4 separate regions of the Homo sapiens genome follow, and regions 2, 3 and 4 are each linked to region 1. The links are contacts of gene promoters, found by promoter capture Hi-C in blood cells and fetal thymus (Javierre and others, 2016). All regions are on one chromosome and are shown on one strand. The core of a region is centred on a gene start or on the middle of the fragment in contact, and the rest is flanking DNA. Distances in the headings are between cores, read along the strand shown. Region 1 holds the start of PATL1 (PAT1 homolog 1, processing body mRNA decay factor). Region 2 holds the start of TIMM10 (translocase of inner mitochondrial membrane 10). Region 3 holds the start of YPEL4 (yippee like 4). Region 4 holds the start of ZDHHC5 (zDHHC palmitoyltransferase 5).

What was found. Contacts are between HindIII fragments. The CHiCAGO score rates a contact against its expected background, and 5 or more counts as called.
Region 2: the fragment with the promoter of TIMM10 here is called in contact with the fragment with the promoter of PATL1 in region 1 in 5 of 17 cell types (naive CD8 T cells, total CD8 T cells, non-activated CD4 T cells and 2 more); the score reaches 8.4 in naive CD8 T cells.
Region 3: a contact is called between the fragment with the promoter of YPEL4 here and the fragment with the promoter of PATL1 in region 1, in 1 of 17 cell types (activated CD4 T cells). The highest score is 5.6, in activated CD4 T cells.
Region 4: a contact is called between the fragment with the promoter of ZDHHC5 here and the fragment with the promoter of PATL1 in region 1, in 5 of 17 cell types (naive CD8 T cells, non-activated CD4 T cells, fetal thymus and 2 more). The highest score is 9.3, in naive CD8 T cells.

What each region holds. Positions count from the first base shown.
Region 1 is chr11:59,664,542-59,671,470 of GRCh38, reverse strand. PATL1 (PAT1 homolog 1, processing body mRNA decay factor) reads left to right here and starts at 2,434. Exons shown (of 19, transcript NM_152716.3): 1 at 2,434-2,590; 2 at 4,507-4,618. The coding sequence starts at 2,576. PATL1-DT (PATL1 divergent transcript) reads right to left here and starts at 2,161. Exons shown (of 4, transcript NR_187296.1): 1 at 1,929-2,161. RefSeq lists enhancers at 1,885-2,174, 2,101-2,395 and a silencer at 2,355-2,704. The HindIII fragment of the contact is 2,400 bases long and covers 1,654-4,053 here.
Region 2 is chr11:57,529,031-57,535,959 of GRCh38, reverse strand. TIMM10 (translocase of inner mitochondrial membrane 10) reads left to right here and starts at 5,206. Exons shown (of 3, transcript NM_012456.3): 1 at 5,206-5,302; 2 at 5,726-5,841. The coding sequence starts at 5,771. RefSeq lists an enhancer at 5,027-5,206. The HindIII fragment of the contact is 3,024 bases long and covers 5,033-6,929 here.
Region 3 is chr11:57,647,911-57,654,839 of GRCh38, reverse strand. It overlaps YPEL4 (yippee like 4), which reads left to right and starts at 4,928. Exons shown (of 5, transcript NM_145008.3): 1 at 4,928-5,155. It overlaps MIR130AHG (MIR130A host gene), which reads right to left. Exons shown (of 2, transcript NR_186232.1): 2 at 1,939-4,542. RefSeq lists an enhancer at 6,417-6,556. The HindIII fragment of the contact is 14,007 bases long and covers 1-6,929 here.
Region 4 is chr11:57,665,238-57,672,166 of GRCh38, reverse strand. ZDHHC5 (zDHHC palmitoyltransferase 5) reads right to left here and starts at 4,053. Exons shown (of 12, transcript NM_015457.3): 1 at 3,980-4,053; 2 at 1-146. RefSeq lists enhancers at 3,352-3,421, 2,975-3,612, 3,613-4,252, 4,422-5,001 and silencers at 3,532-3,731, 3,982-4,221. The HindIII fragment of the contact is 3,116 bases long and covers 3,463-6,578 here.

The sequences.
Region 1 (6,929 bases), core at 1,185-3,684:
GCTCTGCCTCCTGGGTTCACCCCATTCTCCTGCCTCAGCCTCCCGAGTAGCTGGGACTACAGGCGCCCGCCACCACGCCCGGCTAATTTTTTTGTATTTTTAGTATTTTTAGTAGAGACAGGGTTTCGCCATGTTAGCCAGGATGGTCTCCATCTCCTGACCTCGTGATCTGCCCGCCTCGGGCTCCCAAAGTGCTGGGATTACAGGCGTGAGGCACCGCGCCAGGACTTTTTTTTTTCTTTTTTAATTTCTGAAAACTTAAGACTTTTTTCCTAATCTGTTTTTACTATTGATATCTTACATAATGATCAGAAAACATGATCTGCAAGATCAGGGATCAGCAAACTCTGTAAAGCGCCAAATAGTAAATATGTTACACTTTACAGGCCACACTGTATCCATTGTAACCACTCAACTCTGACTTTATAACATTAAAGCAATCAAAGACAATATGTAAATAAATAAGGTTGGCTGTATTCCAATAAAGCTTGCTTTACAAAAACGGGTGGCTGGCCAGATTGGACTGTGGGCCATAGTCTGCTAACCCTTGATCTACATGGCACCAATTCTTTGGTAATTATTAAGATGTACTGCTACTTAGTTTTTTTTGTTTGTTTGTTTGTTTTTTGTGAGACGTAGTCTTTGCTCTGTCACCCAGGCTAGAGTGCAGTGGTGCGATCTCGGCTCACTGCAAGCTCCGCCTCCCGGGTTCACGCAATTCTCCTGCCTCAGCCCCTCGAGTAGCTGGGACTACAGGCGCCCGCCACCACGCCCGGCTAATTTTTTGTATTTTTAGTAGAGACGGGGTGTCACTCTGTTAGCCAGGATGGTCTAGATCTCCTTGACCTTGTGATCCGCCCACCTCGGCCTCCCAAAGTGCTGGGATTACAGGCGTGAGCCACCGCGCCTGGCCTGTTACTTAGTATTTGATGTTTTATAATGTTCCATGCATGCTTGAAAACCAATAAATCATCTTGTCCCGACGCTCCACTTCTTTAAAGTTCAGGCCTGGCCCATGTCAACATTTGCTTTTGTTATTCTGGCACAGTGATTAAGACACTCGGTTTTTAATAATCAGACAAATCTCAGCTGCTAGCTTTACCACTTGCCATTGGGTGGTTGGAGGCAAACAATGTCGCTAATCCTCAGGTTCCTCAACTGTAAACTGAGAAAATAACAGTACCTACCTCATGGGGGGCACATAAGGAAGGATTCAATGAGATAATCCATTTTATAAAGCGCCTAGCAGAGTCCCAGGCAGCCTTCAATCGTTAGTAGTGTTACCATCATGAGGCAGGTGTAATTATACCCATTTTACAAGAAACTAAGGCTCAGAGAGGTTTAGGTAAGTTGCCCAAAGTTTCCTAGCCAGTGGCAAAGCACAAGCTCCCACCCAGAACTTTTCTTCACAAATTCAGCGTTTCCGATACTCAAACTGATCCAGACACACTAACATTTAGGGGATTTACTGTATGCCATTCCGAGACGAGGCTGCATTTTAAGACGCCCAGGGAAGAAACGGATTGCGAAACCCAAAAGAATTCATTCTTTGTGCTGCAAGTTTTGTCTGAAAGGAAAGGGGCAAGAAGGGCATGGAGCGTGCTAGAGGTAACAAACCACCCAACAGAATTCTGGAACCAGGGGGCCGAAGCTTCTAAGCTGGACACATTCCTCTGTGGGTTCGATCCTCTAAGGAAGTGGAGTCACCCAGCGGCGCACCACGGCCCGAAGACCCTGCTGCTGCGTGGCCAGCGGCCCACGGCCGTGCGGCCCTTCGAGGCTCTGCAGCTCCTCGCGCCTAATGAGCCTGGCGCTTAAAAATACCACCCTAGTTAAACCTCCCGGAACCTGTCTTCAGCATTTCAAAAAAAAAAAAAAAAAAAACGGGCGCCGTCATCACTTTGAGCCACATAAATCACAGCCCTGACCTGCTGTGGATTCAGCAGGCGACGAGCCGCTGAAAGTGGCGACGAAGTCCGCCCCTTTCGAAGACCAGCAACTTTCCATTCTTTTTTCCCTGCGCAAGGCGCAGATTGCAACGGGGAGACCCCCGAGCAGCCTGAGGAGTGAGTCGGACGTTGGAAAAACTGCCCGGGAATCTCATCTTTCCCAGCCCAGGCTAAGCGCAGGATTCTTCAAAGCTATATCCTGTGACAATCACAAGGGTTTTCTCCGCCCCACGGGTGACGGAGAACTCGTGACCGGCCCCTGAGCTCCAAGCCGAGCGCCTAGAGGGCGCGGAGAAAGAGGGGGCGGAGCTACAAGCCCAGATCACCAGGCAGCCGAAGACGGGCAGCGCGTGCGCAGTCTCTCGCCACGGGACCTCCTTCCCGCCGCTGAGACTAGGAAGCGGGACGCCAAATCTGTCCCTGCGCAGCCGCCGCCGCCGGGCGCCGAGCGGGGTGGCCGCCCTGCCTGAGGCGCGCCTGCGCACGTCCCCACGCACGCTCCGGCGTACGGCGGCGGCCAGGGGTCGCGAGCCGGTGGAGGACCCGCGCGCGGAGGAGCCGGGGAGTCAGCGCTTCTTCCCTCCCTCCCCCTCTCCCCTCCCCGCTCCCTGCCCCCCTCCCCAAGAATGTTCCGCTACGAGGTGAGCTGTTGCGACCGGAAGTGACCCCTCCCTCCCTCCCGCGCCCCTCTCCCTCACTCTCTCTCCGCGCGCCGGTCCTGTGTTCCTGCGGGGCAGGGGGCGGGCTGGGGGAGTCGCAGGACTTAGCTGGACGCGACTGGTCTGGGGTCGCGGGTCTAATCCTAGGGCTGGGAGCTGGCTTCATGGGTCGAGACAGTCCCATTAGTTGCCGCTGGGGAAAGTTGGCCTCCGTTTTGGGGTGGGGAGGGCCCGTTAAGTGCTGTAACCAGACCACACCCCCGCCCCCACCCCTAGAGGAGCCACGGAGGGTAGAGCACTGCATCTCCCCGGGTGCTTTTCTTAAGTAGGTGTCACCCGGGAATTCCCAGAGCCGCGTTTCCCGCCCTGGACCCGGAACCACCCCCCACCCACCTCCACTCGAATTACACTGACACACATCCCATTCACACAGGCTACCTTCAGGTGAAGGGGGCCTGGGCTTGCCGTTGGATTAGGGCCCCAGCCCGTTTACTAAAGAGGGCTCCGAGTTGGGAGGGGGGCGTGTCCTGCAGAAGTTCCTTCTGGGCTAGTGCTGGGAGACGCGGGTTTGGAGAAGGTGCCGGGAATGTAGCAATAGCAGCAGACAGTACTGACCCTGTCACCAACTCACTGTGTGACCTTGAGTGACTCCTAATCTCTGGACGTAAACTTTCTGAATTTGTAGCATGAAAGAACTGATGTAAATGATCCTTAAGAATTTTTAATTTAAAAAAGCAGCGATTTGGTAAAGTAGATATTTGTGATTTGGAAGGGAGTACTGCTGGAAGTTGCCTCTGATAAGGAGGCAGTGGCATGCCTATTGGCATGAGTTTGGAAGGGCTCTGGGGTAAGAAGAACGCCCTTTGACCTAATCTTTCCATTGTAAACAGGGTAGCTAAGAGGTAGCCAGGCAAGGTGTATCACAAACGTACCTACTGATAGAATATGGAATTCTGATTCTGAATTTTTGAAAATTGAGGACAGGTATACTTGATAGGAATGATCTAAGACCAAACCAAAAGGAAAACTTGGAGAATAAATCAGTTGAGTAAGATTGAAGTAAAGGGGGAAAATAGAACACACCTAGGATGTGGTGGCCTCTAGCCTTTGTTCGATAATCTGTAATCTTTGCCCACTTTGATCATCACAACTCTCTGCCATAGTTGGTATTGTCCCTGCATTACAATGTAAGACATTGAGCCTTACAGCCTAGCACAGAACCTTAGACGCAATAGGTCCTTAAAAGGTATTTGATGAATTAATTAGAAATTTTCTGAGTTGCCCATGTTCACACTGATTGTAGGAATGGAGCCAGAACTTGAACTTGTCATACCACAGCTTTTCCAGAGTTCATTTTATTGTGGTTGAAGACCTAATTTTCTGTTTCATCACTAGAGTTTAGGCCTATAGGGAAGATAAGAAAGATGGAAAATGAAGACAAAGCTTTAAAACGGAATAATAGTTGAAAAGATGACATGAATATAATGAGAAAGATGAGAATTTTGCTGGAAAAGATACATAAAGATACAAGAAAATAAAGGGTTCATTATTAATTGTCATCAGTATTCCAACCAGTGATGTAAGGAAAGTTGTGGGCTTAATTTCTTGGTTGCATGAGGAACTGCTGTTCGTGGATTCTTGATAAAATAGAGAAATGGAATGCTGTGAGGTGGGGCAAGAATTAAATGAAATAAGGATTAGGAAATAGAAAGTGAAAGAAAGATGATGAAATCTTCCAGTGTCAGGGAAATTGGGAAGTAGAAAAAAAATGCCATCTTTACAAAAAGTCATAATGAAGCAATTATGTTCATTGAGAAGGTAAGATGAACATTTTTAGAACATTTTTAAAATGAGGGTGTGAATTTCATGAATAACTAATGTCTTTTCTTTTTTTTTAGTCTTTGGAGGATTGTCCTCTGGATGAAGATGAAGATGCATTTCAGGGACTGGGAGAAGAAGATGAAGAGATTGATCAATTCAATGATGATACATTTGGGTCAGGTGCAGTTGGTAAGTGACATCTTTCGCTTATAATATCATCTTAGCCTCCTGCTCTTTTCAAGTGCTGTCTTTTAGAAGTGCTTTATCTTATTAGGGGTAACCTTATTCACTAACTTGGCAAGATATTCTTCTATTCCTCATCTTAGAATAGTTCATTCTTCACTGGAAACAGCACCTATCCTGCTCCTCTGGGTCTCTTTTTGCCTTACCTATAAAATCAGGTATTCTGTAAGCCTTGCCCCTTCCAGCTATATGATCGATGACTACAGGTTGCCCCTATGAGGGATTCAAATGTTTAGAGAAGTAAACATTTAAGAGAGATTTAAATTAATCCTAGATGAGAGGAATTTTTATTTGTATAACATATAACTTATGGAAAACTAGTGTACTAGTAGAAAATTCAGATTCTAGGATGTGGGTATATGTGTTTCAAAATTTAGTCTATCACTAGTATATAACTTTGCAACTTATAGTATCTTCAAAATATAAAGCTTTTTATAGCAAGAATTTTGGGGGTCAAGAAAGGACTCATAAGTTAGAAAAGTATGCACAGATGAAATTTTGTCCATCCCTGGGTATAGATACATATTATTTATTTATTTATTTATTCTTTTTCGAGATGAAGTCTTGCTCTGTCACCCAGGCTGGAGTGCAGTGGCACGATCTTGGCTCACTGCAACCTCCGCCTCCTGAGTTCAAACAGTTCTCCTGCCTCAGGCTCCCGAGTAGCCGGGATTACAGGTGCCCGCCACCACACCGAGCTAACCAGGCTGGTCTCAAACTCCTGACCTCGTGATCCGCCCATCTCGGCCTCCCAAAGTGCTGGGATTACAGGCCTGAGCCACCGCGCCCAGCCTATAGATACATATTTTAAGAGTTGGAAAAAGTTTAAAAACTGAAGAGCCAAACTAAGGTTACAGGCCACGGGGTTATAAATGCCAAGATGGAAAATTTAGGAAGTAAGCTTATATGATAAAGTTTGAGAACACATGTTACTTAGAACAGGTGTAGAACAAGTGGAGTAATAAATTGAAATTTAAATTTTTAAACTGTATACATACACATATATTTGTTTTGAGACAGAGTCTTGCTCTGTCACCTAGACTGGAGTGCAGTAGCATGATCTCGGCTCACTGCAGCTTCTGCCTCCCCAGTTCAAGCAGTTCTCCTGTCTCAGCCTCCCAAGTAGCTGAGAACACAAGCGCCCGGCTAATTTTTGTATTTTTAGTAGAGACAGGGTTTCTCCATGTTGGCCAGGGTGGTCATGAACTCCTGACCTCAAGTGATCCCTCCTCAGCCTCCCAAAGTGCTGGGATTACAGGTGCAAGCCACCACGCCTGGCCAAAACTGTATATTTTTAAGCAAATGAATAGGTAAGAGTCAATGCAGATATGTTTGCTTAGACTTGGTGCTGGAAAGCAGCAATAACAGCGTTTATGTTCAAATGTATAAATGTGTGTGATTCTTTTGTAGTCGCAACACTTCTGTCTGTGCAACAAATACTCCAAGTTAAGTCATAAGGAAAAAGAGAAAATTTAGCAATAGTCAGTAATCCCAAGATGTTGAATATCAAAAACAAATAAGAGGCCTTAAAGTATTATAATGGTCACTGGTTTTGCAGTGACCTAATACATTTATTAAAGCTTAGACTGACTTGAATAAACTGGCAAAAATGAAGGTGTTTTAATATTGTCAGTCATTTGTAAAATTCATTAGAGAACTAAAACTTTGTTATGATTAGAAGCAGCAAGAAAAGTGTTGAAAGTAGAAGCTAGACTCATGATGGAAAGGAATCAAAGACCTTTTGGATTATAGGCATGGGTTAGGAGATGAGATTGTCCAGGAGGATAACATGATCCAAGATGCTATTATCTCTCTCCATGGAGATCACAGGCAAAGAGATGTAGAGTGGAATTACAAAAGCAGGAAACTGATGTGAATTGCAAATTATATTTGGAAGATAGTTTAGTGATAATCAGTAGGACACAATAAGCTATTTGTGGTGGTTCAAGCCCACAGCTCTCAGCACTTTGGGAGGTCAAGGCAGGAGGATCACTTGAGGCCAGGAGTTCAAGACCATCCTCGGCAACATAGTGAGACTCTTTCTCCACAAAATTTTTTTTGAAAAATAGCCAGGCATGATGGTATGTACCACTTAGGAGGTTGAGGCTGAGGCTGGAGGATCCCTTGAGCCCAGGAGTTCAGGGCTGCATCAGCTATGATGGTGCCACTGCATTCCAGCCTGGGTAACAGAGCGAGACCTTGTCTCTAAAAAGTTAATTAAATACTTTAAAAATAGAATACCATAGAAGCTACCAAC
Region 2 (6,929 bases), core at 3,957-6,456, 2.1 Mb after region 1:
TGAAACCCGGCTGGGATTATAGGCATGAGCCACCATGCCCAGAGTATTTTGCTCTTTTCAATATCTAATGACAGTAGGATAAGAGAAATGAATTTAAACAAAAAACCAGCAAGCCAGAGAGAGATGTGGAAAAACTCGCCAATCTTGGGCAGATATACTCTGGATGGATGCTGTTTTGAGAATAAAGTGAAGAAGCATGGATAGAAGTGGGGAGAGCAGTCAGGAGACAAACTCAGTGACCCTGGTGCAGGATGGTGGTGGCTTGGACCACAGTATCAGCCATGGAGGTAAGAAGAAGTGATGGGAAACAGTAATAGTGCAGACAGTGATTAAGCCAGGGCCAGCTTTTTCTTCAAGTGAATAGAATGACGTAAGCCATTTCATCACAAGGGAGGTTACAGGAAACCTCTGTTTTTGTATTCTCTGCACCTCTCATGAGTGGTCAGGGCCCACTTGAAGTGATTCTAGATGAAAACTCTGCATCTCTTCTTCTGGGGCTGGGGTCCCACCCAAGAGGACAATACTGACCCACGATGAATGACAAATATACAACTCACCTTTGCAAGGTTGGGAAGGGGTAGAATGCAGGGTAGAATGAGGAGCCAGAGTTTCAGCATGGTGTTGACAGAGATCAGTAGCTTTGGATGACATATCTGGAGTCTAAGGATATCTTCAAAGTCTGAGGCTATCTAAACTGTCTTCTACAAGAAGCAATTCAACTGGGACCATTGGAGATTCCTACCTGTAGGTCTCCACATAGAGGAAAGACACAGTCTCATAGTAAATAATCATAATAACAATAGCATCATCATCAATAAGAGCAATGGTTTTCCAGAGGCTGAGCAGCTGGGGAGATGGAGAGTTGCTGTTCAATGGGTATACAATTTCAGTTATGCAAGATGAATAAGTTCTAGAAATCTGTGTACAATATGGTACATATAGTTAACAATACTATTTTGTGCACTTAAAAATTTGTTGGCCGGGCGCGGTGTATAAAGCACTTTGGGAGGCCAAGGCAGGTGGATCATGAGGTCAGGAGACTGAGACCATCCTGGCCAACATGGTGAAACCCCATCTCTACTAAAAACACAAAAATTAGCTGGGTGTGGTGGCATGCGCCTGTAGTCCCAGCTACTTGGGAGGCTGAGTCAGGAGAATCCCTTGAACCTGGGAGGCAGAGGCTGTAGTGAGCGGAGATCGTGCCACTATCCTCCAGTCTGGTGACAGAGCGAGACTCCGTTTAAAAAAATTTTTTTTGTTAAGCAGGGCCCAGTGCAGTGACTCATGCCTGTAATGCCAGTGCTTTGGGAGGCTGAGGCAGGAGGATCGCTTGAGGCCAGGAGTTTGAAACCAGCCTGGACAACATAGCAAGACCCTATCTCTACAAAAAATTTTAAAAACCACTCAGGCATGGTGGCTTGCGCCTGTAGTCCTAGCTATTCAGGAGGCTGAGATGGGAGGATTGCTTGAGCCCAGGAGTTTAAGCTAACAGTGAGCTATGATTGGGTCTCTGCACTCCAGGCTGAGCGACAGAGACCCTGTCTCAAGGAAAAAATAAATAAATAAAAGGGCTTTATCTGTTAGAGATAAAAATAGATGAAGAAAATATGGACAAATGTTAACAATTCCTAAGTCCTGGTGATGAATATATGGAAGCTCAATGTCCTGTTCTCTCTGCTTTTCTGTATGTTTTAAATATTCCATCTGGGCATGGGGTGGCTCATGCCTGTAATCCCAGCACTTTGAGAGGCCAAGACAGGAGGATTGTTTGAGCCCAGGAGTTTGAAACCAGCCTGGGAAACATGATGAGACCCTATCTCTTAAAAAAAAAAATTAGCCAGGCATGGTGGCTCATGCCTCTAGTTCCAGCTACTTAGGAGGCTGAGGTAAGAGGATTGCTTAAGCCAAGGAGTTCACGATTGCAGTGAGCACTGATCATACCATTGCACTCAAGCCTGGGTGACAAGGCAAGATCCTGCCTCAAAAATCCTAAGTAAAAATAAAAATAAATTTGCCCCAGTGAAAGTTTAAAAATGAAAAAGAATGAAAACAATGATTTATTTTTATTGAGCATCTACCATGGACTAGGTACTTTACTTACACAATCTTTTATATAAATATTTTTCTTTCTTTCTTTATGGCCAGCTCTTACTCATACTTGTATAATCTTATTTGTTTTCTTTTTTGTAGAGATTTTTAAAACTTTTTATTTAGAAATAATTATAGTTTCACAGGAAGTTGCATTAATAGTACAGAGAGGTCCTGTACGCCCTTTACCAACTTCCACTAAAGGTTAAATCTAACATAACTATATTCAATATCAAAGCCAGATAATTTATATTGGTACAATGTGTGTGTGTAGTAGTTCTATGACTTTTTTTTTCTTTCTTTTTTTTTTTTAGACCGAGTCTTGCTCTGTCGCCCAAGCTGGAGTGCAGTGGCACAATCTCGGCTCACTGCAACTTCTGCCTCCCGCCTCCCGGGTTCAAGCGATTCTCCTGTCTCGCCCTCCTGAGTAGCTGGGACTATAGGCGCATGCCACCACACCCGGCTGATTTTTTTTATTTTAGTAGAGACGGGGTTTCACCATGTTAACCAGGATGGTCTCGATCTCCTGACCTCGTGATCCACCCGCCTCGGCCTCCCAAAGTGTTGGGATTACAGGTGTGAGCCACCGCGCCTGGCTTTTTTTTTTTTTTTGAGACGGAGTCTCACTCTGTCGCCTGGGCTGGAGTGCAGTGGCACGATCTCGGCTCACTGCAACCTCCACCTCCCGGGTTCAAACGATTCTCCTGCCTCAGGCTCCTGAGTAGCTGGGGTTACAGGTGCCCGCCACTACCCCCAGCTAATTTTTTGTATTTTTAGTAGAGACGGAGTTTCACCAACAAGGCTGGTCTCGAACTCCTACCTTGTGATTCGCTCGCCTGGGCCTCCCACAGTGCTGGGATTACAGGCGTGAGCCACCGCACCCTGCCAGTTCTATGACATCTTATCACCTGTGTAGATTCTTGTAACCACCACCACAATCAGGATACAGAATTATCCATCAACACAAAGATCTCTCTTGTGCTACCCTTTACAGGTACACTTCTATCTCCCCATCAACCCTAACACTAGACAATCAGAAATCTCTTCTCCATCTCTATAATTTTGTGATTTTGAGAATGTTACTTAAATGAAATCATACAGTATGCAACCTTTCATAAGGCCCAGTAGATATTGCAAGATTCCTCTTGTAAGAAACCATCTCCTTTTCCCACGCAGTTTCTTAACTTTCCATAATGTTTCTTTTTTGCGGGGAGTGGGGGGTCGGAGTTTCACTCTTGTTGCCCAGGCTGGAGTGCAATGGTGCGATCTTGGCTCACTGCAACCTCTGCCTCCCGGGTTCAAGTGTTTCTCCTGCCTTAGCCTCCTGCTTAGCCTCTTGAGTAGCTGGGATTACAAGCACCCGTCACCACACCGGGCTACTTTTTTGTATTTTTAGTAGAGATGGGGTTTCACCAAGTTGGCCAGGCTGGTCTCGAACTCCTGACCTCAGGTGATCCACCCACCTCAGCCTCCCAAAGTGCTGGGATTACAGGCGTGAGCCACTGCACCCGGCCAATGTTGACTATATTTTCAAAGGCAAAAACCAAGGCAAGATATGTCCATCTGTACAAGAGTATCATAGCAGCATTATTGCATAATAGGCAAAAACTGGAAACAATCCAAACATCCACCAACGGGAGAATGGATAGATGAATTGTGGCATACTCATACAATCAAACACTAGACAGCAATAAAACAGAAGGAATAACAGATGCACACAACAATATGGAGGAAATCTTACAGGTACATTGAGCTAAAGAAGTCAGGCACAAAATAGAAAATAATGTATAATTCCATTTACACGAAGTTCAAGAACAAGGAAAACTAATTGATGGTGATAGAGGTCAGAATAGTGGTTAACTTCGAGAGGGGGTATTGATGGGGAAGGAACACAAGATAACTTTTTGGGGTGCAGGAAGTATTTTATATCTTGATCTGGATGGCGGTTATACAAATGTACATATATAGATACATATATATTTAATTAAGCTTAACATTCGTGTATTTTATGCACTTTATGAATGTTATACCCCAATCTTTAAAAATCAGGGCACAAGTTTGGCAAAGATGAGTCTTCAAAGCAGTAGAAAGGTCAATTGTTTAAAATTAGGATGGTCTTGGACAATTAGGGAAGCTTATGATGACCACACAGAAAATGTCTAGCCCACCTTTTCCAATGGGCAATGTGCCCTTGCGTCATTAATTTACATCTTGTAAATTTATTTTACCAGGAAATTGTGTGACAAATCAAGGGACTGAGTATTGTTTCCTTGTTTCCTTCTTTTTAGTGGGGAATGAGTGAATGGTGCAGTTTGAAGAACACATTAAGTCTTGAAAGTTGGAAAGTTCACCAGTACCCTTCTTTCCCTCACCCAAGATTAGCCCTGGTGGCAGCCGAAATTGCTTTTATTATCTCTTTGTGGCTGAGGACCTCTAACTGTTGAAGAAAACATATTTTACACGTCTTGTCTTTCTGCGAACAGGAAGCCTATCTCGCTTATCTTTGCAACCCCAGACGGGGCTTAGTGTGACCTACACACAGCAGTAATCGCACAACGTCCCGTGGAGCACTGCTTCTCAAATTTGGCTGTACATACGAATCACCTGGGGAATTTTAAATTGTATTGCTGCCTGAGGAATTTTAAACTGTACTCCCAGAGATTCTGATTTAATTGAAATGAGGTGAGTCCTGGGCACTGGGATGTTTAAAAACGTTCCAGGTGATTTTAACGCGAAACAAAAACAGAACCGCTGTTTGGGGGCGTTCTTCCTTCTCCACGCCTGATTTGCGCACAGGAGTCGGCTGTCTGGAACGGGGGTGAGGTTCACAGGTGTCTGTCGCCACGCCTCTTCCTACAGAACCAATAAACTGAAGCCGCTCGGTGACATCCCAAAGGACTTGAATTCTGATCGGGCTGCAGACGCTCTGCACCCCGCCCAAGCTTCTATGGTACTTTGGTGTCCTCTCTAGCACTGGCAAGTCGCCTTCCTCTTCGCCCGGCGCCAGCCGCTCCCTCTCTATGATCGCCGAGTTCCCGGCGCCGTCTCGTTGGTATTTAATTCCGGAAGCGAGTTTGAATCAAAGAAGAGGCGGGACTTTCCTCCCGGAAGTAACCCACGTGCTTCCGCTGGAGCCTCTCGGGAGGCGGGTAACGTTATAGTATTTGTCAGAAGTTGGGGTCTCCGTGGGCATTGTGATCCGTCCCAGGCAGTGGTAAGTGACACATGACCTCTGAATTCAATGTGGCCCTGATGATGGCGTCGCCATTTCAGAGGTGTAGCCTTTGGGCTGGGTCCCGGTCGCCTCTGTTCAGCGTATGATCCCATTCCCAGGGCCCTGGAGGTTCAGGTTCGTGGGTTAGAGAGTTCTCCTCCGGTCCTCGATCTCCTGAATAGAGGTGACCTCCAGGAACTGGGGCATCAGAGATCCGGGGCTCGATTTCCAGGCTCGCCATAGACGTCCTGTGCGACCTTGGGCTAGGCCTCAGTTTCCACATCCGTGAAATGGGGTGGTTAAGCTCACTGAGGTTAGTGGCCCGTGGTGGTCTGGCGCCCTGTGAGTCCTCTGTATCCTCTAGCCCCAGGGGTAGGAGAGTGAACGGCGGCGGTGGGTGCTGATGGTGATGTCTGCTCCCAGGATTAGGAGGCCAGAAGGAGATCCCTTCCACGGTGCTAGGCTGAGATGGATCCTCTCAGGGCCCAACAGCTGGCTGCGGAGCTGGAGGTGGAGATGATGGCCGATATGTACAACAGGTAAAGAGAACTATGTGCTACCCTGTCTTGGAAAATAAGTCTTGGTCACCCTTATCGAAGGTGAATGACTTATGACAAATTCCTTCCTGAATGTAGGGGAGCCTGAGGCCCATGCTTACCCTCCCCACACCCACCTTCAAGGTTGATCCTAATGTAGATGCAGTAAAGGGTCACTAGAATGAGTTGGGCATTTAGATGGGGATGGAACTGGCAATGCAGGAGCCAAGCAGGAAGAGAAACTCCAATCCAGGCTCTGGTTAGGTTCCAAGAAAAGCTGAGTATTTGCCTCTTGACAAATAGCACATAGCCAGCCCATTTAGTAGTTAACATTTTAAAACCCTTTATTCTGTGTCAGGCACTTGTTAATCTTCAAAATAATCCAGTGGGTTAATTTTATTAGTCCCGTCTTAAAATGAGGAAATTGATGATTCTAGAGGTTAAGTAACTTCCTTAGGGTCGGCAGCTGGTCAGTAACAATGCCAGAACTAGCACCTCAGTCTGATTCTGCAACTAGTGCTCATAACCATTTGGCAAATTTGGGAACAAATCCTGGCTCCACCAATCACCAGCAGTATAATTGGACATGTTACTTGCACTGTTTGACAATTGGTTTCCTCATTATGAAGAAGACATAATGATACCTACCTCATAGGACATCATAAATATTAAATCTAAAAATATATGAAAGCCCTTAGCCTCAAGCCCAACACTTAGTGAAATGTCTGCTATTTTTATTGGCTTAAGCTCTCTTGATTGGTTGGTTTATCCTGAAGGCTATAAATTAGAAGGATTTTTAAGTGTAGACTGTGAGGTCAGATGACCTGGCTTCATAACCCAGCTCTGTGTGATCCTTAGAAAATTACTGAGCCTCTGTTTGCCTTAATTTCCTCATCTGTAAAATGGGGATACATGTCTCTTAGGGTTATTGTAAGCATTGCATAACAGAATGCAGGTAAAGCACTTAGCAGGATGCCTGGCATGTAGCCAGTCCTCAACAAATGGTTTCTACTTAGTTAGTCATATACATGGACTTAGACAAGTTTCCTACTTGCAAGGACCTTCCAGTGGTTGAGGTGTAAACTGAGGAT
Region 3 (6,929 bases), core at 3,679-6,178, 2.0 Mb after region 1:
TCTTCTCTCACTTTTTTTTTTTTTTTTTTTTTTTTTAGATGGAGTCTTACTCTGTCTCCCAGACTGGATTGCAGTGGTGCGATCTCAGCTCACTGCAACCTCCATCTCCCGGGTTCAAGCGGTTCTCCTGCCTCAGCCTCCCGAGTAGCTGGGATTACAGGTTTCCACTGCCACACCCAGCTAATTTTTCTATTTTTAGCAGAGACAGGGTTTCACCATGTTGGTCAGGCTGGTCTCGAACTCCTAACCTCAGGTGATCCACCTGCCTCGGTCTCCCAAAATGTCGGGATTACAGGCGTGAGCCACGGCGCCCAGCTCTTTTCTCAGTTTTAATCTTTCACCAAGCACTCCTGCCATCTCCACCCCACCTCCAAACAATACCGTCATCATATGTTCTTTTTCTCCTCTCCAGCTAGATCCTTGATCATTTTCTTTTTGCTTCCAAACTTTCTTTCTTTCTTTCTTTCTCTCTCTCTCTTTCTTTCTTTTTCTTGAGACATAGTTTCGTTCTTGTTGCCCAGGCTGGAGTGAAGTGGCGCAATCTCGGCTCACTGCAGCCTGCGCCTTCCGGGTTCAAGCAATTCTCCCGCCTCAGCCTCCCAAGTAGCTGAGATTACAGGCGCCCGCTGCCATGCCCAGCTAATTTTTGTATGTTTAGTAGAGAAGGAGTTTTGTCATGTTAGCCAGGATGGTCTTGAACCCCTGACCTCAGGGTCATCTGCCCGCCTCAGCCTCCCAAAGTGCTGGGATTACAGGTGTCCGGCCTGCTTCCAAACTTTGAATCCGAGCTGGGCCCAGTGACTCACGCCTGTAATCCCAGCACCTTGGGAGGCCAGGGTGGGTGGATCACTTGAGATCAGGAGTTCGAGACCGGCATGACCAACATGGTGAAATCCCGTCTCTACGAAAAATACAAAAATTAGCCAGGCATGGTGGCACATGCCTGTAATCCCAGCTACTCAGGAAGCTGAGGTGGGAGAATCACTTGAACCCGGGAGCCGGAGGTTGCAGTGATTCTCGATCATGGCATTGCACTCCAGCCTGGGAAACAGAGCGAGATTCCATTTCAAAGAACAAACAAACAAACAAACAAAACAAAAGAACTTTCGATCCATGCCTTGAAAACTAATCATTTGCCTTTTCCCACTTCTCATTGTTCTCCTCAACAATTGCTTTTCAAAATCTTTTTTTTTCTTTTTTTTTTAAATTTTATTATTATTATACTTTAAGTTTTAGGGTACATGTGGTGCACAACGTGCAGGTTTGTTACATATGTATACATGTGCCATATTGGTGTACTGCACCCATTAACTCGTCATTTAGCATTAGGTATATCTCCTAATGCTATCCCTCTCCCCTCCCCCCACCCCTCAACAGGCCCCAGTGCGTGATGTTCCCCTTCCTGTGTCCATGTGTTCTACTTTTATCTCCCCTCTCTTCTGCTGCCCAAACAAAAGCACTTCTCTCTTCTTTCTTTACCTAGCTTTTTCTCTCAATTCCAAATCTCTAGTACTATCCCTCAAGACACCCACATTGTCTTTTCAGAATTTACTTTAAACCCCAGAATCTTCCCTGATTAAATATTTAGAATCCCTTTTTATTTTCATGCTCAACTAGCAATGTCTCCCATTACCCACATTTCTCTGCCTTAACTTTTTTTTCCCTCTTTACGTGTGAGAAGAAAAACAAACCACCCCCAAGCACTGCTTTCTAGAAGTCCCTATCTTTGTCGTACTTCATTTGCTAAATGCTAGACTCTGTTAGAAATCAGGGTTTTTGTCTTAGGGGATATGTTCTGTGTTCACATACTTTAGTAACATGCACAGGACAGCACCCCATGAGAAATGAATTCTGAGTCAAATGAAATTTAACTGGAAGCTGCTAGAAAAATAGCAACAAAAGATGTAATGTCTTCATAAGACAAAAATTTGGCATGTGTCTCTTGAGATATCAGAATTTAATAATAAATCCTCCCTGGGTTTTGGGGGTCATACATTGAGAATGCTGTTTTGGTTTCACTTTTGTTTTTTTGGTTTTGTTTTTTTTTTTGAGACGGAGTCTCTCTTTGTTGCCCAGGCTAGAGTGCAGTGGTCCCATCTTGGCTCACTGCAACCTCCGCCTCCTGGGTTCAAGCGATTCTTCTGCCTCAGCCTCCCAAGTAGCTGTGATTACAGGCATACGCCATCACACCTGGCTAATTTTTTGTATTTTTAGTAGAGAGGGGGGTTTCACCACGTTGTCCAGGCTGGTCTCGAACTCCCAACCTCAGGTGATTCGCCTACCTCGGCCTCCCAAAGTGCTGGGATTACAAGGTGTGAGCCACCTCACCCAGCCAAGAATGCTTTTTTTTTTTTTGAAACAGAGTCTCGCTCTGTCACCAGGCTGGCGCGATCGGCTCACTGCAACCTCTGTGAGTACAGTGGCGCCATCTCAGCTTACCGCAACCTCTGACTTCCTGTTCAAGCGATTCTCCTGCCTCAGGCTCTCGAGTAGCTGGGATTACAGGCACGTGCCACCATGTCCAGCTAATTTTTGTTATTTATTAGGGATGGGGATTTCACCATGTTGGCCAGGATGGTCTCGATCTCCTGACCTTGTGATCTGCCTGCCTCGGCCTCCCAAAGTGCTGGGATTACAGGCGTGAACCACCGCACCTGGCGAGAATGTTGTTTTGAAATGACACTACTGTTTACTGCCTATCATGTGCCAGGCATTTTTCAGGCATTTAAATGTTATCTCACTTTATTCTGCATCTCCATGAGCTAATAATAATAAATATTATTAGCTTCATTTAGCAGAAGAGTAAGACTAAGGCACAAAGATTATCAGTAATTTGCCTAGTGGTTCCTGCCAAGTAATTGGCAGAGCTAAGAGTCTAATTCAGTCTCTTTGAGACCAAAGCCAGACACTTGGTTCATGTCTGAAGATGCAACTCAACTGCTCTATTAATCAGAGTTCTCTAGCGGGATAGAACTAATAGGATAGATGTATATATAAATCAGAGTTATTACGGAATATTGACTCAGATGATCACCAGATGAGGTCCCACAGTAGGCTGCCTGCAAGCTGAGGGGCAAGGAAGCCAGTCCGAATCCCAAAGTTGAAGACCTTGGAGTTCAATATTCGAGGGCAGGAAGCGTCCAGCATGGGAGAAAGACGTAGGCTCAGAGGCTAAACCAGTCTGGTCTTTCCACGTTCTTCTGTCTGCTTTTATTCTGGCCTAGCTGACAGTTGATTACATTGTGCCCATCCAGATTGAGGTGGGTCTGCCTTTCCTAGTCCATTGACTCAAATGTTAATCGCCTTTGGCAATACCCTCACAGACACACCCAGGAACAATACTTTGCATCTTTCAATCCAATCTAGTTGACAATATTAACCATCACCAGTCCACCCCTTGTCAACTTGAACCCATACACGTCTCCTGAAATCATACATGATCTTCAAATAAAGACAATAATAAGGTCATAATTACGCTTAACATAATACAGCTATCCTTTGTACAACCGGAAACGCACCAATCCCCAACCCAAATGCTATTACATAGAGTTAACAACACTTAAGTGCTGATATCAAGTCAGTAAGTCTTATGTCACATGATAAAGGCAAAAGAAAGGAAATAAAATGAAGATATTTTCTTAATACAAGTGTATATATGCACAAACATGTTCCTAACAAAAGGAGGAGGAAATACTCATGACAATTACAGTCCTCATTTTCTGCAGCTGGTCACATGGTCATAGTTCGTATTGATGACTACCTTCTTTGACTACCCATTCTGAATTCCGTTTGCCTTCAGCAAGCACCTCAGCAGATTATGTTTTTTTTACCTGGTGGAGTGACCCAAACCTTCATTCCTGAAGGGTCTGGGCCATTTGTCATCCTGCCTGGATTGGGCTGTTGCAGTTTCCCATTGACCTTAATCACAGGGCATGGTAATATTAAGAGACGCCCTACGTGATCTCCTGTATTCCACGCATACTTCCTTACCGCCATTGTGGAGTAGTAGACTGATTTCATCTTGATAGTCTGGGTCAAACACTGTAACTCCCTTCTTAGCAAGTTGGCTTAAAAGTAAGAAGAGCCCAAAGTGGCCAGGTGGCAATCTTAACTTCCAGTTTAATGGAATCATTGTTGTGTCTCTTGGTGGCAGCATTCCTCCCTCTGGAACTAAGACCTCTAGGCCAGCAGAACATAATGCCGCGGAAACAACTGCTATTTTGGAAACATCTAAATGCACGGGTCTGCACTGGACATTGCAGTCCTGGGATGTAGAGAGTAATTTCCCAGAAGGCCTGTCTCAGGAAGTTTACAGCCCAATAGAGAACTTCATATAACGTAGGTGTCTCCATTCATGAAGCACGCATAATATGGAGGTAGCTGTTAAGGGGTTCCTGCATGCAAAATGTCACATTGGGTCTATTACTCCTTCAGGAGTATTAAACCAAGGCTTTGAGGCTTGGTACAAGTTTGGGGGCACAGTTTGCCATCCATGACAATTAGTACATCTGTCTTTTCCCTGCTTCAGGGCTGGTGTCCAAGCTGAAATGGGAAAGTGTATCATCTTAAATGTGTGTGTGCTCCCTCACTCTGCATCCATCTCTTCCTTCACCAGCCTTGCCACCTCCTTTCCTCCAGCCCTGCCACCCTCACTGCATCCTTGCCCAGCCCTGTCCTTCCCCCAGGTTCTTCGTATCTCCTTGGCCCCACTGCCTTCCTCCTTAACAACCTGCCTCTCCCCTTGCCCACCATCGCCGCCTTGTCCCTCGGCCCCCACTCCTCTAGCCCCGTCCCTTGATGCCTACCCCCTCCCTTCCTTCCGACCCGCCTCCTGTGTCTCCCAGCCCTGCTCTGACGTGGGAGGTGAGGGGGGGTGGGGGGGATGGATGACTCACAGTGTTATGATGCAGTTCCACAACACACAGCCACATTCACCCACAGACCGAGGTACAGAACGAGAGACAACCTCTGCCCCCCCAGCAGCTGGCCAGCTTTGCAGCCCCAGTCTTGAGCCCCCAACTACCCTCCCCCCACCCACCCCCATCCCCTTCCCAATTGAAGGAGCGGAAAGAGAAGAGAGAAGAGTGAGCAGAGAGATTGAGAGATTGAGAGAGAGAGAGAGAGATAGACGGAGATCTCTGGAGCAGACCTCAAGGTGAGGGGGCAGCCCTTCTCCAAATGAATTTTTTTCTCTTTGCAAATTTCCTCCTCCTGCTGCGTGTTGCTTTCTCCCCTTTGCAAAAGCATTATTCATCCACCCTTTGTCCTCCCTTCCCCCTCCCCGCTGCCTCCGCTCCTCTCTCTCGGTTCCTCCATCCCTCTCCAAGCTCTGACGATTCCCGCACTTATTTCCCGGCAACTTTGGCTGCAGCATCAGGCATCACTGTTTATTGTTTTGCTGCTGGTGCAGACCCCCAAAGCCTGCCCTGGGAGCTGGCGGTGCTGCTAATTATTTGGACCATACCATACTGAGAATACCAGCCTGGGGGGTGCCAAAACCTCAGAGCAGATGAGAAAATCCATTGTGAGCAGGTGTCCCCCCCCTTTTCTTTTCCCCCCTGAGAAGCACGAGATTCGCACCTGGTTCCTCCAGCCTCCGCCTCGGCGCCTCTGCTGTCAGCTGTCAGTTGCCCCCGCCAGCCCTCCCTCTCCCCTTTCTCCTACGGTCCAGCCCCGTCTCACTTCAGGGGAACATCTCTCCCCAGCACTCGGCTTGCCTTTGTTTTTTCTCCAGTCATTTGCCCAACTTGCTTCTCCCTGTGATCCGAGATGGGTGAAAAAATGACCCCTACTCCCCTTTGTGATTCTCTGGCCTTCTGTGCAGCCTTTCCTTGGCTTGACTGGGAATTAGGGGAGAGGGAGGGAGGCGTGACGGCCGGAGGCTGGAGAAGGAGCTCAGGATTGGGGACCCAAGCTGCCCCATTCTCCATGCCCCTTGAAGAAGGTGTTTCAAGGTGGTGCATGTCAGAGGGGAACTCGCTGGCAAAGTTGAAGGCAAACCTGTGAAGCAGAGACTGAAAGGTGGTCTCTTGGCAAGGAGGGCCCGTTTCCTGCAGCCGGAGCCCAATGTCACCCTGAACTCAGCCCAAGGTGTCTTCCTGGGACCCAGCCCGGAGGAGAGGACCTGAAACTGAAGATAGTCTCTATGGAGGTTTTGCGGAGAGACTGCCTGGCGGCCTTCAGAGAGAGTGGAACAGCTGGGTGCCTGTGGCCACTGCGGAGGACAGGACGAGGAGAGCCTGTATGCCCTGGCTAACCAGAGCCAACACTGCCTCTTCTCTGCTTAGTGCTCTAGCATTGCCAGAGTGCCCAGCTGGCATCTCTGAACCAGACTTAGGCTAACCACCCACAGTGGGCTGGGAAGCCCTATGAAGGAGAAAGCAGCAGCTCACCTGCTTATCGGAGCCAACAGGGGCCACCTCCCTTCTTATCCTCTGCCTCCAGCACCTTCAGCCACTCGGAGGCTGGCGCGTGGGCAGAAGGCAATCTTCCTCTATTCCTAATCAGAACCCAGCAATTACTTCATCTTCAGTCACCCACAGAGTCACTGCTGTTTGTCCCTGCCCCTGGGAGAAGGTAGAAAGAAACATTTTCTGCCTTGTGCCCCAAAGCACAGCTGTTAAAAATAAGAGTCCCCCTTCTGCTGTTCGTTGTGGCCGTTGCTCTCACCCTACCACACAGCCCTGCCCAGCCCAGGAATCAGGCTCCTCTGACATGCTACCCATTTCCCATTGGCTCCAGCTGTCAGATTGCCTGAAGAAAATGTATTTTCTGCCTAAGTCTTTAACCAAGGGCTAAGGCAACAGTTAGTAAAGACTAGGAGAGAGAAAGACCAAGGGGCCCACAGGCTGGGAAGACAGGCAGGTGCTTATTCTGGGCCAGAATGAGTGAACCAAGGTGCGAGAATGGGCGGCCACACGTGAGGGCTT
Region 4 (6,929 bases), core at 2,804-5,303, 2.0 Mb after region 1:
TTCCAATTGATGACACTTCAAAAGTTTACTGTGGATGAAAACGAAGTTCCAAAGATGTCCCTGTTTCCAGACTAGTCAATGTCTCTTATCTTTCTTCAGTCTTCAGCTTTCCAGATGCAGAGTTCAACCAGGTTACTGTGTCTCACCTGGAGAAAAACAAGTATCTTTATCAGAGAATTCTTTCAGGGTATTTCTTAGACACCAAGGCTAAAATTCCACAGGCTGCTGTTAAAAAGTACTTTCTGAAAGAAAGACTGTTTTCCATTTCACTTACATGTATGTGGGTAAGAAGGGACTCTGAATTCAGAGGAAAACTGACTTGAGAATCCTTTGCTCTGTTCAGATTGGAAGCAGAACATGGCTTCACCTGGCCAAAGGACATCAAAGGACTAGCTCTTGTAAGGGGCCCATCTCACCTGACATAGATGGTAGTAACAAATACCAAGAATATCAAAATCACAAACAAGGGCACAGCAGTGAAGGGCAGTCCTAGAACAAAGATTTCTCTTTGGACAAGAAGAGTGTTTATTGTTATAGTGAAAAAAGAAAAAAATTAACCTCAAAATTAGGAAAGCAAGTCTCATTTTCTTTCTCTGTGTGTTTCTTTTGCTCCTCTATGCTTTTTAGTTACAATCCTGAAGAGGTAGAAGCTGAATTTTTGGTCTTTTGGAATCACCCATTAGAACACTGGGTAAGAAATGTTCTTGCAGAGAAAGCCATGATGCCCTCTATGAGAAACTGAATAAGCATAGCATAGGGTTGGTTCTTTTTTCCCAATTCAACAGTTTATTATTCCTATATTGGCCTAAGGTAACTGAGCCCCACCTGCCCCAATATGATTAAAAGTAACAATTATTTCTGTTGATGACAATAACAAACTAACACCAGCACCTTGGGATTTTATAAAATGCTTTTCATCTGGTGATCTAAAAGCACTTTACTCACATTATCTGGTGACGCAGTCCCTTATCCCACTCTTTAAAATTGAAGGCTACAGAATGCCCGAGGACATTCCACTGAATCACCTCAGGTTCAGAACTCAAGAGGTCACATGCCCCTCTGGTGACACAAACCCTTTCTACCTTTTCATCCACTACCTGCCCAGAGATGATAACTTGGAATCTGCAAGCCAAAAATTTTAAGTTAGAATTTTAAAAGAAAGTAGTTTTATTCCCTTCTCTACTAAAAATACAAAAATTAGCCGGGCGGGCGCCTGTAGTCCCAGCTACTCAGGAGGCTGAGGCAGGAGAATCACTTGAACCCAGGAGGCGGAGGTTGCAGTGAGCCACTGCACTACAGCCTGGGCAACAGAGCAAGACTCTGTCTCAAAAAAAAAAAAAAAAAAATCAGAAGATTCAGATAACAAAATATAAATGTGCCCTATAATGTACCACTTCCTCTCTCACCTATGGCATGGAAGGCAAAGGTGCCTTCCCTTACGATTCATTTCTCTCTTTAAAATTAGGGTTTCAGAGGGCCAAACAGCAGTATTAGAATACAGTGAGCGCCAAAAGATTCTAAGAAACTGTTATAGTCCTAGAAAACATAAATCCTCTCTAGTCCCTGATTTAATGATTATTTAACTCTCAGTTTCCTACAGGAATGGAAGCCTAACATTTGGAATGTAGGCCTCAGTAACTTTGTTAACAAAAGCAAACTCTTGATTTGTAGACAATATGTACTTTTTTTTTTTTTTTGAAACACAGTTTCCCTCTGTCACCCAGGCTGAAGTGCATGGTGTGATCTCAGCTCACTGCAACCTCCGAGTCCCGGATTCAAGCAATTCTCCTGTCTCAGCCTCCCGAGCAGCTGGGATTACAGGAGGGCACCACCACACCCAGCTAATTTTGTATTTTTAGTAGAGATGGGGTTTCACCATGTTGCCCAGGCTGGTCTCGAACTCCTGACCTCCAGGTGATCTGCCTCCTCACCCAAAGTGCTGGGATTACAGGTGTGAGACACTCTGCCCAGCCAATATGTACTATTAAAGCAAACTTTTCCCTCAAAATCCCAAAGACTAGAAAAGATGGAAAATTATACTACTTAAATTTTATCTAGAGTAGAATATCATTTAGATACTATATATTGTTTCATATATTTTCCACAGGAAAAAAGTCACATGGACTAATATTGACATAGTAATACAGAGTCATGAAAGGCCATGCAATTTTGGGAGTATAATACTGGGAACACAAAAGAGAACAGCATCTGAGATGCTTGGGGGCTACACAGTAGAAGGGAAATCAAAAACCTAACAATTTATTGGGTATAAATAAAGATGAACCAATTCTTAGCAAAAGAATGTGCTGCAGATACTAGGATGAAACCACAAGGGTGAGTATGGTTCATCAGAGTCAACAGTTTGAATCCATACTAGTATCAAAAAAGTATACAAGAATATGTATGCCAGCTGGGCACGGGGGCTCACGCCTGTAATCCCAGCACTTTGGGAGGCCGAGGCGGGCGGATCATTTGAGGTCAGGAGTTCGAGACCAGCCTGGCCAACATACCAAAACCCTGTCTCTACTAAAAATACAAACAAATGAGCAGGGCGTGATGGGGCATGCCTGAAATCCCAGCTACTAGGGAGGCTGAGACACGAGAATCGCTTGAACCCGGGAGGTGGAAGTTGCAGTGAGCCAAGATAGCAGCCACTGCACTCCAGCCTGGGCGACAGAGCCAGACTCCGTCTCAAAAATGAGAAAAAAAGTAATATGTATGCCATATTGAGGCACAGAGTAAACTATGAAATGGAAATATGTATATGTAAAACAAACAATACAGGATATGTGGTTTGAAGGCTTTAATAAGGTTTAATACAGGTATTTCCTTAAATAGGTGGATACCAGCAGTACCAAGGACAACACAACTATTTTTTGTTGAAATAAGCGGTGTAACAGTACAATAGAGTAAATCTAAATGCACAGTAATGGAGGTACCATGGAATAATTCACATGTCAAGGTATGGGAGAAAGAGCCAAGAAGTTTAATGTGGGTGTTATCATTATATACCGAGGTAGCAAAATACATGGCAATATAATTTTGTAAACATTAAGTTTATACAATGGGTGATAATGAGCATTCTGAAGATATTTGATCCAGGACAGAGGTATACTGAGATAGAAGGATGATATGCAAATGTTAGATCAACTTGGTCAAGATGGCATTAACCAGGAAGTGAAGAATCCAAGGCAAAAAATAGTCTAGCGTATAACGTATATGTGATCCTACAACTGCCTTCCTAACTTTTAGCAACTTTCTTACTTCTTATTTCAGTGTTTCATTTGGCCAAGTGGGTAAAACACTTTCCACCTGCCTGCCCCAAATATAGGTAAAATATTGACAAACGCATTCGGGCTCCACTTTAAAAAGTACAAAGTACTAAACGCATGGAGCACTCGGCTGGTGGCGGTAGGAGGAGGAAGCGGACGGGTGAGAGAGAACAGGTAACAGGATGAAGCTTGAGCCAAAATAAGTATCAGCAGAGTGGAGCGAGGGACTCGAACCGCAGAGCGGTAAAAGGGAAACAGCACCCGGTCCCCACCACGGGACTGGGGAAAGGAGAATCACCCGTTGGGGCAGGGCTGACGACCGCTGAAACCGAAAAGAAGGAATCCACGGCGGCCAGGCCCACCGAGGTTGAGAGAGCGGGCTGCGGGGACCGCAGAGCCCGAGGGCGCAGGGCCGGGGGCGGAAGGGGCGGCGGCTGGGCGCCAGGCACCGGGGACCGCGGTCTCGAGCTGAGTGGCCGTCTCTAACCCGTTCCGAGCCCTGGCGGTCGTGGATCCCCGGCCTCTACTCGTCGTCCGTTTCCAAGGCCCATGGGTCCCGCCGCGGTTGGAAGACCCGGCCCGGAGGAGAAATAGGGCCTTAATACCCTCCCCGTCTTCGGTCCCCCTTCCCTAGAGGTCACCCTCCCCTCCCACCTCGCTGGTACGGCACTTCCGGTTCCGCAGGGACCGGTGTCCTCCGCACTCACCCGCGAGCCCGGTGCCCGTCACCACCGCCGTCGTTGTCACCGCCGCCTCCCGGCAGTGCCGTCCTGCCTCAGAGAAGCAGCGCGCGGCCCCCGCACGCTCCACGCCCGCCCCGCTGCCGCGCGCTCCCGCCAGGCGTCGCTCGTCTCGGAGCCGGCGCGCGGCCGTTGCCCTCAGTGCCGGGTCTCGAACCCTTCCAGCGTTCCCATTGGCTCCCTAGTCCGGGCTCGCGCGACGTCTCGCGCGGCGCACGTTTGTCTCATTCATGCGGCTCGCGCTGCCGCGCCCAACCCCGCTCACTCTCCCATTCACCCATAGCCCCCACCCCGACTCCGATCTGGGGCGTGCGCGCGAACCCTGGCGACCGCGGCGACCTCGCGGCCTGATTGGCTGCAGCAACACAACGACGTACGCACGCGAGAAGACGAGAGCGCGCACGTAAGGCCGTGGGGTTGCGGGGACAACTAAGAGACAAGGATTGGCCTAATGCACAGGAGTCAGGAATGAGGAAATGGCCAGGCGAGTCTTCCCTTCTCCTGCGTCCTGTTGTATTCCCACTGAATCCAAGCAAAAACCCCCGGAAATAAGAAAAGAATTATGTGTGTGTACTAGAAGTACTCAAAAGCAAGCAGCTACCTTCTCGAATTCAGCAACCCCTCTCCTACTGAGGTGGTACAGTCCAGACAGGCTTCCAGCGCAGCCAATTACCGACGACTATCGCCGCTTCCTGCTTCAGCCCCTTCGCGGCGGATTGGCCAACCATTTGGCGACTAGGCCTCCCTCTTCTCCTTCCCATCTCCTTTTTTTTTTTTTTTTTTTTTTTTGATGGCAAAAACTTTATTTAAAACAATCTTGCTGGAGAAATCTTCAGTCCGGCGAGGTCGCTGGTCCGGGCAGAATCCAGGGCGATGGAATGGTCTGGGCTGTGTCTCCCACATGAAGGGGACGCCCGGACTTGAAGAGCCAATGTAGGGCGAGGCTCCTGCCAAGGGCCGGGGAGGGAGATGAAGAAGAGCAGGCGCCAGCCTTGGAGCCGTAGCGCTAACCGTGAGAGGGAAGCCTAAGGAGCGCGCGACCTGAGGCGGTGGCAGCACCCTCCCGCCCCCGGAGTGCGAGCCGGGAAGTGAACTCCCTGAATTCCATTAGTTTCCCACTGTCACACGTGGGATGGGCGCCCGCATCCCTCACCTCACCCAATCCTAGAATACAAAGCTAAAAGCAAAAGGTTCTCTAGAATAGCTACTGTCCCTGGCGAGCTAACTCTGCATAGGTCATAGTGCTACGCTTTGCCCTGATTAGCCCAAGACAGCTGTGAACCCAATAGCAATGCCCCATGTTCTCTCCCCATTCGGCTCGAGGCTATTTCTTTTTTCGAAAGCAACTCTAGCTATTACATAATGGTCCCTCAAAAAGGTGTTTCACAAGCCACTTCCCTGAAGCCGAGGCCCCTCACCTGTAAAATCCTGAGGACTGTCCTCGGGTTTGGTCTCAAATGTTGCTGGCTTTACTGTGGTTCTGACACTAGCATTAGGCAGTAAGGTAAAAGAGAACTACCTTCTGTTTTCTGGAATCTAGTTCCTTCTCTGACATGGCATATATTATAAGTTCTAGTTTATTCTTGTTAACAGCGTCAATCCAGCATTTATTGCAACACACTTGAGAGTTCTTTATAACGACTTTATATTTTTAAAACAGACCTGGCCTGGCGTGGTGGTTCACACCTGTAATCCCAGCACTTTGGGAGGCCAAGGCAGGCGGATCACGAGGTCAGGTGCTCAAGACCAGCCTGGCCAACATAGTGAAACTCCCTCTACTAAAAATACAAAAATTAGTCGGGCATGGTCGGGGGAGCCTGTAATCCCAGCTACTCGGGAGGCTGAGGCAGGAGAATTGCTTCAACCCGGGAGGCAGAGGTTGCCGTGAGCCGAGACCACACAACTTCACTCCAGCCTGGGCAACAGAGCAAGACTCCGTCTCAAAACAAAACAAAAACCTCTTTAGACCATATGAAAGGTAAATTATTGAAGATACAATATTGATATTTTATTTTTTACTTTTTGAGAGGGAGTCTCACACTGTCACCCAGGCTGGAGTGCAGTGGCGCGATCTCAGCTCATGGCAACCTCCTCCCGGGTTCAAGCAATTCTCATGCCTCAGCCTCCTGAGTAGCTGGGATCACAGGCATGTGCCACCACACCTGGCTAATATTTGTATTTTTAGTAGAGATGGGGTTTCACCATGATGGCCACATTGGTCTGGAACTCCTGACCTCAAATGATCCTCCCACCTCGGCCTCCCAAAGTGCTGAGATTACCGGTGTGAGCCACAGTGCCCGGCCTGATATTGGCATTTTCTACCTGTAAGCCATGTTTCTTTAAGATGAAGTCAGCTTTCATTTTTCTGTTGCAATATTTTTCTTGGATTTTTAGACTTCCTGATTTCCTCCACAAATTAGGCATTTTTATTTTCCTTTCAGCTGTCTAAGAACTTGTAAATAGTGGTGTCTCTTGGCTAGACAGTGCTAAATGGAAAAAAAAAATCAGTCTTCCACCATCCAACCAAACTAAACTCCCCTGGGATACTAACTTGGATTGCCAAGCTTTGTTAGGTGGATGAGCACTAACAGAGGTATAATCACTATCCCAAAGTTGAAAGACAGAGATTCCACTTGTCCAGTTTTCCTTGGGATCACTCAAGATATTTCTTGGAAAGAACGTTTAATAGAACATATGGTTTAAAGTGCCAGCTACTTCTGAAAAGTATCCAGAGTAAAATCTAGGCTAAAACAGTATGATATCCAGACCACCCAAACTTTAAATTACTTTAATATGTTAATGGCTTCTCTCATCTGCGCATCTTTGTTCATCTTGCTCACCACACTCTTCGGCTGCCTGGACTTAGACCCTCAGTAGCATGGGCACCTAAGCACACAGAAAGCTAGAACATGCATTT